Linked DNA regions of Homo sapiens: region 1 is linked to region 2. Evidence: promoter capture Hi-C in 16 types of primary human blood cells and fetal thymus (Javierre and others, 2016). All regions are on one chromosome and are shown on one strand. Each heading gives the region's core, a stretch centred on a gene start or on the middle of the fragment in contact. The rest is flanking DNA. Distances are from core to core; before and after follow the strand shown. Region 1 holds the start of NDST2 (N-deacetylase and N-sulfotransferase 2). Region 2 holds the start of MRPS16 (mitochondrial ribosomal protein S16).

Region 1 (5,620 bases), core at 941-3,440, 560 kb before region 2:
TAAAAATAGTGTTTGTTCTGAATGTTGGTAGACCCTTCATAGCTTTGTTACAATGAAACCTTGAACTGAAAATATTTAATAAAATAACCTTTAAACAGTCCATTGTGTTACTGCTGTTGGAGGTTTACGGCCAGAGGCGTAGATTTTAGCAGCCTGGCTTACCAGGTTGGAGAGAGTACCTCCTCCTACTCCCTTTGGGTACTTTTGAGAATAAAACTTCCTCATGCCTGTAATCCCAGTACTTTGGGAGGCCGACGCGGGCGAATCACGAGGTCAGGAGTTCGAGACCAGCCTGGCTAATATGGTGAAACCCCGTCTCTACTAAAAAATACAAAAAATTTAGCTGGGCATAGTGGCGGGCGCCTGTAATCCCAGCTGCTCGGAAGGCTGAGGCAGGAGAATCGCTTGAACCTGGGAGGGGGAGGTTGCAGTGAGCCGAGGTCGCGCCACTGCACTCCAGCCCAGGCGACAGAGTGAGACTCCGTCTCAAAAAAAAAAAAAAAAAAAAAAAAAAAAAAAAAAAACTTCTCATAAACAGCCTCCAAACAGCGCTCGGTGCTGCGCAGGCGACGCGGGGCGGGGAGGGAGGGTGAGTGCCCTGGGAGCCGGCTGAGGGCCTCGCCCCGCCCCTGGTCCCGCCTCCGGTTAGGCCGCTCCGCCTCTTACTCCTCCCCTCCCCCGAGTGGGCCGGCCCGGCTCCCCCTCCGCGGGGCTGAGTGGATGAGCCCAGGCCTGAGCCCGCCCCTGCTCCGAAGTCGTGGTCCCCGACGCTCGGCCGGCAGTGCCATCGCGCGGAGAGGAGGGGGTGCGCTTCCGCGGGCGGGGCGCGGAGCCCGCCGTCTCGGAGGCCGCGGCTCGGCCCGGCACTGCGGAGGGCCGCTTGATTTCCCGGAACCCAGGTCGCGCGGCTGCTAGGGCCGGAGCCGGTGGATCCGAGCGGGTGCCACCAGCGGCGGCGCGCCGCCTCCCCCGGTGGGAGCGGTGGTTGGGCCAGGCTGCGGCAGAGCGTTCGCTCGGAGATGGCGGAGCAGCCGCGACGCGGCCCGTGGCCCCGAAAGCAGGGAAGCCGGGCAGCCCCGGGACGCGGCGGAGCCCGGGGACAGCGGGGACGCCGCCCAGTCCTCCGGGTGAGCCGCCCCTGAGGAGACCCCCCCGCCCACGGTCGCGCTCAGGCCCCCCCAACAGACTCCCTTGGATGTTGCCACCATCACCACCCGCAGGGTCGTCCCGGGCGGCCCAGCGTGCGCCGCGCCCCGGGTCCTTTCCGCCGGCCTCCCTCAGAACCGCCTCGCTCCCCTCCGGACCGGGCGGGCTCCCTTCTTCCCGCAGGGCTCTCCCAGCCCAGAGGCTGTCTCGATGTCACCCCGGAGTCGCCGCCGCGCGCCTGTGGCCCCTTCCCCTTTGGTGTCCCACATCCGGTGCGCTCTTCGCATCCACCTGTGCCCCCGTCTCCTCTCGGCGGGGCCCCTCCACCCGCCAGCCCCGGGCCCCCTCGGCGCCCGCAGCCTCCGCGCCGCTGCTCCGGCCGTCCCGGCCTCCCCAAGCCCGGGCCCGGCCCCGGCCCCCGTCTGGCTTCGCCGTCCTCAGAGATCTCCCGCACACACCCACCCCGCCCAGCCCTGCTGGCCCTCAGTGTTCACTGGCCCGGCCTGCGGCGCTCCCGGCGCCCCTTCCCTAAACCTTGCTGCTTCTTCCAGGTATGAAGCTAAAATGCAGCGGCTAAGAACGCGGCTCTGGAGCTTGACAGGCCTGACGTCGAATCCCAGCCCTCCCACCAACTGAGCTGTGTGATCCTGGGCAAGGTTCTAAGCTTCTCTGAGTTACTCATATGTGAAATGGGGATAATGGAGCATGTACCTTTTCCCTACCTCTTAGGGCTGGTGTGAAGATTAAATATATGTGAAGCTCTTAGAAGAATGGCTGGCAAGTTGTAATTTCTCAAATACGGGATGATACACCCTGAGTATCAACTTCCCGTCAGTGACCTCCTCACTACAATGTTTTCTCTAAAGTTGCATCACATTCTTAGCATTCACCCCTTCCCGTCACCATTTTGATCCTCTCCCCCAGCTGTCTTCTCGTGTCGTTTTACCTAGGCCAAAGCTGAACTGTTTTATTTTTATTTTTATTTTTATTTTTTTTTGAGCTGGAGTCTAGCTCTGTCACCCAGGCTGGAGTACAGTGGCACAATCTCAGCTCACTGCAATTTCCGCCTCCCACGTTCAAGTGATTCTCCTGCCTCAGCCTCCTGAGTAGCTGGGACTACAGGCGCCCACCACCATGCCCATCTAATTTTTGTATTTTTAGTAGAGACGGGGCTTCACCATGTTGGCCAGGCTGGTCTCGAACTCCTGACCTCAAGTGATCACCCGCTTCGGCCTTTCACAGTGCTGGAATTACAGGCGTGAGGCACCACGCCTGTCCTGAACTGTTTTTAAATCATCTCTGTCAATTCTGAAGGACCTCAGCTCTGCCTTATCACCCCTGAGATGTGTGTTTGGGGGTGGGTGGTAGAGAGGGATTGCCAGCCTTACAAGGAGGCTGAGTGGGGATAGTGACAATAAAGCTTACAGAAGCAGTCGATTTAAGAAAAAGAACAGACTCAGGAGGCTGAGGCCGGAGGATTGTCTGTCTGACCCCAGGAGTTCAAGACCAGCCTGGGCAACGTAACAAGACCCCCATCTCTAAAAAAAATTAAAAATTAGTAGGGTGTGGTGGTGCAAAGCTGTAGTCCCAGCTACATGGGAGGCTGAGGTGGGAGGATCACTTGAGCCCAGGAGTTTGAAGCTGCAGTAGGCTATGATCACACTAGCACACTGTATCCTGGGTGACAGAGCAAGACTCCATCTAAAAATAATAAAAGAGATCCCCAAAATTAGACCTCCTTAAAACTGTTTTCTGATCACACTGTCCTTTTTCCTTCTGTCATTGGTTGGATGTGACTTAAGCTCCTGTTGCTCTCTGTCATCCAGTCCTTACTCAAGTTGTTCTGTTTGTGTAACTGGACTCAATACCTCATGTCTCTCCAGACTAGCTCAGGGACTCTTCTGAGCTGTTTAGGAATAGGGTTGTAGAACTACTTAGGCTAAGTTAGGAAGGAGAAGTAGAGTGGACTCAGCTGTATGGCTTTTCTCAGCACCCAGTGTGTGGCCTGCTCAGGGGTTACATTTTTATCTCCTGACTGGCAAAGTTGAGGTGAAGGTCAGGGGCAGGTAATGTTTCACAAGCAACGGGTAAGGGAGTCCCTAATTTCTGGGTTTGGAAACTGGTAGAATGATTACCTATCATGAGGATTGCTCTTTCCTTTTGAACTCCCCCACCATAGTGTCCACCTGACTGCAAGTTCGTTAAAGCTGTTGGCTGTGATATTGGGTTTGATTGATGAGAAGATTAACAGACTCATGAGTTCCTTATCTGATATTTTGTTGGAGCATGGGACTTCTGAAGACTTCCGGGGCTTTCCGTCCCTTCCTCACAGAAAGATCAGAGCTGTTGCTGGCTGCCAGCTGCTCGGTCATGGGCTAGGAACTCCTTTCAGAGCAGGCCTGTTTTTAGCCTTCTAGGATATTTAGCCTCTTGTTGATGGGAGATTTGTTCCTATCATTTGCATATACTGCTCCATCTCTGAGCTTTGCTTAGAGAGGAGAATTTGGACATTCATTTGGGTATTCTAAGAAAGGGAAAGGGAACAAGCTGTGAAGCTAAGGTATAGGACTCAGCTTGTAGATTCTCCTAGAGGAAACTTTTTTTTTTTTTTTTTTGAGAACAGATTATCCAGTAAGCAGGAGGTAAGAGAGATGGGATGGGGAGGAGAATGGATTAATGACAATTTCAGAGGGAGGAGTAACCCACTGATTTCTCTGTCTTACAGGTAGAGGGGAAGAGATTGAACTTTGCTGACCTTTGATGTGAGGCGCTCAGCCAGGGCCAAGGGGAGAGCCTGGCAAGATTTGCAGCCTGAAGCCATGGGCCAGGGGGCCATGGTGACCTGAGACAAGTGGACTCTGTATAGTTGCCCCCTGCTTCCCCTTCTACCTCCCCTACCCTATGCTAAGGGGACTCGTCTCCACCTCGTAAAGGAAACTCCCCAAGGGAATCCCTGTCCCCTATTTTCCTATCCTTCTACCCTTCCAAGACAGTCCTAGCCTATAGAACTCCTACCTCCCATCCCCTGAGGTGGTCCCCATTCCTCCCTCCCTTCCTCCCCCCGCCATGCTCCAGTTGTGGAAGGTGGTACGCCCAGCTCGGCAGCTGGAACTGCACCGCCTCATACTGCTGCTGATCGCTTTCAGCCTGGGCTCCATGGGCTTCCTGGCTTATTATGTGTCCACCAGCCCTAAGGCCAAGGAACCCTTGCCCCTGCCCTTGGGAGACTGCAGCAGCGGTGGGGCAGCTGGTCCTGGCCCTGCACGGCCTCCAGTTCCACCTCGGCCCCCCAGGCCTCCAGAGACAGCTCGAACTGAACCCGTGGTCCTTGTGTTTGTGGAGAGTGCATACTCACAGCTGGGGCAGGAAATTGTGGCCATCCTGGAGTCTAGTCGTTTTCGTTATAGCACTGAGTTGGCACCTGGCCGAGGGGACATGCCCACATTGACTGATAATACCCATGGCCGCTATGTCTTGGTCATTTATGAGAACCTGCTCAAGTATGTCAACCTGGATGCCTGGAGTCGGGAACTGCTAGACCGGTACTGCGTGGAGTATGGTGTGGGCATCATTGGCTTTTTCCGAGCCCACGAGCACAGCCTACTGAGCGCCCAGCTCAAGGGCTTTCCCCTTTTTTTACACTCAAACTTGGGGCTCCGGGACTACCAAGTGAATCCTTCTGCCCCGCTACTGCATCTCACACGCCCCAGCCGCCTAGAACCAGGGCCACTGCCTGGTGATGACTGGACCATCTTCCAATCCAATCATAGTACATATGAACCAGTGCTTCTTGCCAGCCTTCGGCCAGCTGAGCCCGCAGTGCCAGGACCAGTTCTTCGTCGGGCCCGGCTTCCCACTGTGGTACAGGACCTGGGGCTTCATGATGGCATCCAGCGGGTGCTCTTTGGACATGGCCTTTCCTTCTGGCTCCACAAACTTATCTTCGTTGATGCTGTTGCATACCTCACTGGCAAGCGCCTCTGCCTGGACCTTGACCGCTACATCTTGGTAGACATCGATGACATCTTTGTGGGCAAGGAAGGGACCCGCATGAAGGTGGCTGATGTTGAGGTCAGTCTTGTTACTTAAATTTTTTTCTTAGAAGCTATTCACACTCTGGCCTGTCAGACTCCCTTCCTTGATTCTGAGCTTGTCATAGGTACACTCCCTGCCTTTCCAGGCAGGAAGAATGCTACTTCTCATGTATTTCCTGTTCAGTCTGCTCTCCTGATTTCTCTTGTCCCTGCTACTCTTCCCAGGCTCTGTTGACCACCCAGAACAAACTCAGGACCTTAGTTCCCAACTTCACCTTCAACTTGGGCTTCTCGGGCAAGTTCTATCATACTGGTGAGCTTATACCCCTACTCCTTTGGCATATCATAGTTTGACCTGTCCCTTCACTGTCCACCTCCCTGGGCAGACAAGTTGAAGAAAAGGGTCAAGGTTTGGGGTCAGACTGCTGTGAGGAGCTAGT
Region 2 (6,183 bases), core at 149-2,648:
TGAGGCTCTGCTTGCAGAGATCCACACACTACAGGAAACAGTTGGCTTTGGAAATCCATCTTTCTGATACCCCTCCAGCTGAACAATTTTCTGCATGGGACTCTGAGTTCCTTTCCTTCCCAGAGAGTTTTACCGTATGAAGCCTGGAGCTGGAGAACGAAAGAATCTTCACTATAAACAGAGACCCATTCATTTATTTCCATTGGCTGTGTTACTGGATGTTTTACTGGTTGACGAGAAACTGGGTCACAATAAAAAAATGGAGATATGAAACTCAAAATTCATCAGCATGGTTCTGGAGTTAACGTATACTGAGTTACATGTAGGTATTTAGTTATATAAATAACTATAGTGTAATTGCTATAATAATTATATGGCATATATATACATACAATAAAATTAAGGTATAGTGGGGTCATTATTAGGGTTTCTGATGAAAGCTTATTGGATCACTCCTGGAGGAAGTCAGGTGCTAAGGTTTCTGGACAGGTTCAGTTAACTGAAATACAGGAATTAAGGCATCATTTTCAAAGGTGGCCCTGGAGGAAGACTGCTATGCTGGGTCACTGTATTAGGGCAAAGAGCATGCTAGCCCTTTGGAACTAACAGTAAACGAAAAAGCTGAACAGAGAGGTCTTTGCTGAAGGTGGAGCTATTGACACCTTCTCACCAAACACAGGCATCTTCATGGATCTAAACCACTAGGGCTCCAAGGAGACACCGTTACCCTCATCACCGAGGTCATATTCTAGGGCTACAGATAAAAAAAAAAAAAATCATACTTCACCTCTGCCCTGGATCACAGCACGGCAAAAGCAGGAATAACCCCTCCTTTTTTTTTTAAGGTGTGACTGCCTCGATAGGGGTGGGACGACAACAGGAGAAAAGGTGAGAGGTAAATTAATTTTGGTTAACGAGAAGGATAAAGTAAAATCTAGTCACTTACAATCCTTCTCCTAGTCTCGGCCCTGACACTACCTCCTCTGTGAAGTCTTCCTTAGCAAGCACTAGGTTTGCCTTCTCTGCTCGCTGTCCTTGCGCTGAGTACTACTGATCGCGCTAGTTTCTCTGCTGTCATCTCACGGTCTCCCCAGCGGACTGTGAGCTCCACGAGGAAAGAACAGCGCCCTTTAGTATTTGCGTTCTCAGCGTTGCGCCTCGGCACCAACGCTTGCAAGATGGATGGCTTTTGTAGCACTTTCCTTGGCGCGCCTGGGATTCGCCTAAAACTTCTGACTCCAGCAGGGACTCACAAGTCTGAGAGGGATCGCACCGCCACTCCCACAAGACACCACGAGAAACGCCTCTTTTGCAGCAGTTTAAGGTACGTTAGGGGTCACCGTGTTGCATTGTGGGAAGTATAGGGCGGCAAGCGGAGGAGGCGTGGCGAGCGGATCATCCGCTTCCGGAGTCGAGGTTTTCGGGCTTGTACCGCTTGGCGGTGCGGCCTGGTGTCGGCTTGCAGGTTCTTTCTGTGTTTGTTCTCTGCCCTGCCAAGGCCGTAGAGCTGGTGCGTGCGGGTAGCGGGGCTCTCCGAGGAGCCGCACGCCGGCGGCACCATGGTCCACCTCAGTGAGTCATCGGGCCACCGCGAGACGTTCCGGGCGGTCACGGGGCTCGGGAGTTCGGGGCCGGGTGGGGAGAGCTCTCCCAGGCGCGATGGAGGCAACCCGAACCTGAAGCAGCCACACTGCCTTACATTTGATCCTTCTCTCAGTTTTTTCCCCACTTAATCACCGCTGAAAAATTTCCACCCCATTGAAGCAGCTAAGGCTCCGACAAGGTCACAGAGCCTAGTGAATGGCAAGCCCATGCGGGGTGGGTTTGGGTATGAGGAGGAGGTCATTGCTGGCTGGACTGGCCAAGAGGGGTTTCACAAAGAAGAGTAGCATCTAAACTGGATTGACAGGAATGGATTGGAAGTGAGACATTTCAGTGGGAAAAGGGAATTGTGCCGTCTGTGTCATTTTGTCCTTTTTGTGCTGTTTTTTGTGTCCTAACCAGCTGCTTTTCTACAGCTACTCTCCTCTGCAAGGCCTACCGTGGGGGCCACTTAACCATCCGCCTTGCCCTGGGTGGCTGCACCAATCGGCCGTTCTACCGCATTGTGGCTGCTCACAACAAGTGTCCCAGGGATGGCCGTTTCGTAGAGCAGCTGGGCTCCTATGATCCATTGCCCAACAGTCATGGAGAAAAACTCGTTGCCCTCAACCTAGACAGGATCCGTCATTGGATTGGCTGCGGGGCCCACCTCTCTAAGCCTATGGAAAAGCTTCTGGGTAACTCAGCTCTGGTCTTACCTTATTGAGGGGATTTTAAACTGAAGTCAGCTCCAGGACAGTAGGTGTAAGAATGATTTTCGGCTGGGCACGGTGGCTCACGCCTGTAATCTCAGCGCTTTGGGAGGCCGAGGCGGGCGGATCACCTGAGGTCAAGAGTTTGAGACCAGAGTGGCCAACATGGTGAAACGCTGTCTCTACTAAAAATAAAAAAAAAAAATTAGTTGGGCGTGGTGACACGCACCTGTAGTCTCAGCTACTGGGGAGGCTGAGGCAGGAGAATCGCTTGAACCCAGGAGGCGGAGGTTGCAGTGAGCCAAGATCGCGTCACTGCACTCCAGTCTGGGCAACAGAGGGCGATTCCATCTCAAAGAAAAAAAAAAAAGAGTTATTTCATTCCCTCTAGGCTGTTCAGGACTGAAGTGGGAGCTGAAGTTGTGATCTAATTGGCATTTTGAATCTGGAGGCCCCTTTTGTGGACTCCTTTGTAAGACTTTGGGTGACTGGTATTTTATGCTAAAAATAGGAATAGTATGTTTTGAATGGCCATCTGTCAGTTTACGTTTTTTAAAGTAAGGGGAATATTGTTAGGGAAGTAGACATCCACTGTCTCCTTGCCGGGGAGAAGTAGTACAGAGTTTGGCAAGTGAGGAGCATGGTTTGCATCCATGCACTGGGTCAGATCTCAGACCTCAGTTCTGTGAGACAGAGTTCCTAGGGAAGCATTGGCTTATACTGTGTTATAATAAGTGAAAAATCTGTTACTTTTAGGTCTTGCTGGCTTTTTCCCTCTGCATCCTATGATGATCACAAATGCTGAGAGACTGCGAAGGAAACGGGCACGTGAAGTCCTGTTAGCTTCTCAGAAAACAGATGCAGAAGCTACAGATACAGAGGCTACAGAAACATAAATGAGCTGACTTTAGTGAGCATAGCAGTGGGAACAAGGTCAAGGTCCTTTTGAAACACTGCAGCGATCTTAATTTTGTTAGATTTGGAGTTCAATAAATGGAGTATCCTGAGTTGCCCTTGCTCTTCTGGCCTGGCCTGCACAGGGCCCAGGGAGAGATTTGTTCTTGTGTGACTTAGAGCTGGGTGTGGGTACTAATTAGCTTTTTTCGACTTTGTCTTGGGATAGACAGTGGCTATGGGAGGATTGGACTTTTGAGTTGGGCTCTGGGTCTCTTGGACAACTTTACAATTTACTGGCTTCCAAGACTTCCTGCTTCAAAACCCCCAGCCAGACTATTCATGGCCCATTCAGATCTTCATGTTCATCCCACAAGTGCAAGAACAGTTAACCTTTCTTAATTGATTTTTGTAATTGGAGGTTTATATTGTCTTGCCTAATGCATATTCTCTTTTTTTTTTTTTTTTTGAGACGGAGTCTTGTTCTGTTGCCAGGCTGGAGTGCGGTGGTGCAATCTCAGCTCACTGCAATCTCCACCTCCTGGGTTCAAGAGGTTCTCCTGCCTCAGCCTCCTGAGTAGCCGGGGAGCTACAAGCATGCACCACCACACCCAGCTAATTTTTTTTTTTTTTTTGAGAGGAGTCTCGCTCTGTCGCCCAGGCTTGAGTGCAGTGGCGCGATCTCGGCTCACTGCAAGCTCTGTCTCCTGGGTTCATGCCATTCTCCTGCTTCAGCCTCCCGAGTAGTCCCAGGAGTAGCTGGGACTACAGGTGCCCACCACCACACCCAGCTAATTTTTTTGTATTTTTAGTAGAGATGGGGTTTCACCATGTTATCCAGGATGGTTTTGATCTCCTGACCTCGTGATCCGCCCGCCTTGGCCTCCCAAAAGTGCTGGGATTATAGGCGTGAGCCACCGCCCGGGCAAATTTTTGTATTTTTAGTAGAGATGGGGTTTCACCGTGTTGGCCAGGATGGTCTCAATCTGACCTTGTGATCTGCCCACCTCGGCCTCCCAAAGTGCTAGGATTACTGGCGTGAGCCACCACTCCTAGCCTTAATGCATATTCTTAAATATACAAAGGTAGATTTGTTATGAAAATTGCTTTGGGGCTCTAATAACCTACCTTTTAAGAATGAGAAACTGCTGGGCTTAAGGGAGTTCAGTATGAATCAAGATTGAACCATTCAAATGTGGCTGTGATTTCTGCATATATCATAGATGGGATCCTTCTGAGAATACTGGAATAGGGAATTAGGACACCAAGCCAATTCAGCTGTGAACCTTATTCTTGTACTTTTCTTTCTTGCTGGTAATTTTATGGAGCAGGTTAAGAAGGCTGCTCTGTGTTAGGATAAACTGTATACCAATAATGTTGACAACCTGTAATGAGTGTTGCATTTTACTTCTTGTATCTTTTCCTTCCTACCTTGATGCCAGTAATCTATAAGGGATCTTTATAGTTTGAATGTATTTGAATAACTTCAGTATACTTTAGTTCTACTTTTTTATTTGACTCACAACCATTCTTAGGTCTCAAGTATTCCCATGTGTTTTAAAAGCCTGAAGTCAGTGAGATGAAATTCAACATCAAGAATTTGAAGTAACTTGTAAGGAAAAATAATATAAAGATACCATTGGGGCAGTGGCTCACACCTGTAATCTCAGCACTTTGGGAGGCTGAGGTGGAAGGATCACTTGAAGCCAGAGTTTGAGACCAGCCTGTGCAACACAGCAAGACCCCGTCTCTACAAAAACTTAAAAAATTAGCTGGCTGTGGTGTTGCTCACCCATAGTTCCAGCTACTCGGGAAGCTGAGGCAGTAAGATCACTTGAGCCCAGGAGGCCGATGCTGCAGTGAACTGTGATTGTTCCACTACAGTCCAGCCTGGGTGACAGAGAAAAGAAAAAGAAAACATTACATAATTTGGCTAGAGCATAATAATTTGATTTTCTGGTTTTTGAAAATTTGAGTTGCAATAAAAGGATATTTCAGTGTGCGATTTCAATTTTCCGTAGCAAATGTATATATAGAAAAATGTTAAAATAGATGTATTTGAATACCTTAAAAAATACAAGAAACTGGAAGAAAGATAATATTGCAAAGCATCTACATATATCCTAGGCCTTTTGTGTACAAGGTTATTTGTGACAATTGTAAGGTATTATGAAGGCAGGTAGGATTATCTCCGTTTTACAGATAGGGAAGCTGAGGCCTAGAGGTGGAAACTTGCCCAGTGATGTAAGATTCATCTCCCGGTTATGCCCTCCTGGAAAGCCCTTCCCAACATATTATGTTGTCCATAGAGGGAAAAATGAGCAAAGACAGATGGCTTAACTCTGGTGTGTGACTAAGATATAGGAAATTTATAGAGGAGGTTCTATCAATGTGCCGACTTACTTTGTGTTTTATGTTCTGAGAACGATTACCAGCCATCTCAAATTCTGTGGTTGTCAAAGCTCCCCTGGGGTTGTTGCTGGTTGGCCCCCACTTGCTTTGAGACTTTGATGCCAGGGCAGGTTGAGAGGAACTGACTTCAGCTGAGTTTGATCTTGGATCTGGGAAAGAGAAATGCTTTGAAAATCACGGCAACTCTGGGAAGTTTAAAAGATATTAATGTATCCTGGAGAGTTTGAGGCTTTGCAGAAACTTATTGGCAGAGCAGAATGATTCTGAAAAATGCTACATCAGTGAGGGGATATTTGATAAGGTATTTTCTGCCAACTCGGGTATTCACTTAGCATTGTTTATCCTTTAAGATATGTATACACATACTTCCTCTGTGAGTTTACCCTACTAACAAAGTTTTATCCCCAGCCTCAACCTTGCTTTGGGTCTCCAGGCCCAAGTTTCTCACCATCTCTTGGATGATTGCTCCAGCCCACTCTGCTGCCACCTGGGATCCAACATGTTCAAACCCAGCTGTGAACTTCACAGAGTATTAAAAGAAAGAGCCTTTGCTTCAGCAGTTTATGTTATTAAGACGGAGGCT

The links. The method cuts DNA at HindIII sites, captures the fragments that hold promoters and counts their contacts. A CHiCAGO score of 5 or more calls a contact.
Region 1: a contact is called between a fragment that was not itself captured here and the fragment with the promoter of MRPS16 in region 2, in 1 of 17 cell types (fetal thymus). The highest score is 6.6, in fetal thymus.

What each region holds. Positions count from the first base shown.
Region 1 is chr10:73,806,981-73,812,600 of GRCh38, reverse strand. NDST2 (N-deacetylase and N-sulfotransferase 2) reads left to right here and starts at 1,003. Exons shown (of 15, transcript NM_003635.4): 1 at 1,003-1,127; 2 at 1,698-1,802; 3 at 3,872-5,217; 4 at 5,406-5,493. The coding sequence starts at 4,213. NDST2-ZSWIM8-AS1 (NDST2-ZSWIM8-AS1 readthrough) reads left to right here and starts at 781. Exons shown (of 18, transcript NR_182658.1): 1 at 781-1,127; 2 at 1,698-1,802; 3 at 3,872-5,217; 4 at 5,406-5,493. CAMK2G (calcium/calmodulin dependent protein kinase II gamma) reads left to right here. Exons shown (of 23, transcript NM_001367534.1): 23 at 1-100. RefSeq lists silencers at 489-1,198, 1,499-1,568. The HindIII fragment of the contact is 756 bases long and covers 1,813-2,568 here.
Region 2 is chr10:73,247,859-73,254,041 of GRCh38, reverse strand. MRPS16 (mitochondrial ribosomal protein S16) reads left to right here and starts at 1,398. Exons shown (of 3, transcript NM_016065.4): 1 at 1,398-1,572; 2 at 2,019-2,279; 3 at 3,051-5,193. The coding sequence starts at 1,560. The coding sequence ends at 3,190. It overlaps CFAP70 (cilia and flagella associated protein 70), which reads left to right. Exons shown (of 28, transcript NM_001367801.1): 28 at 1-280. The coding sequence ends at 67. It overlaps DNAJC9-AS1 (DNAJC9 and MRPS16 antisense RNA 1), which reads right to left. Exons shown (of 4, transcript NR_038373.1): 2 at 5,592-5,749. RefSeq lists enhancers at 1,003-1,262, 1,383-1,672, 1,112-1,679, 6,146-6,183. The HindIII fragment of the contact is 1,832 bases long and covers 443-2,274 here.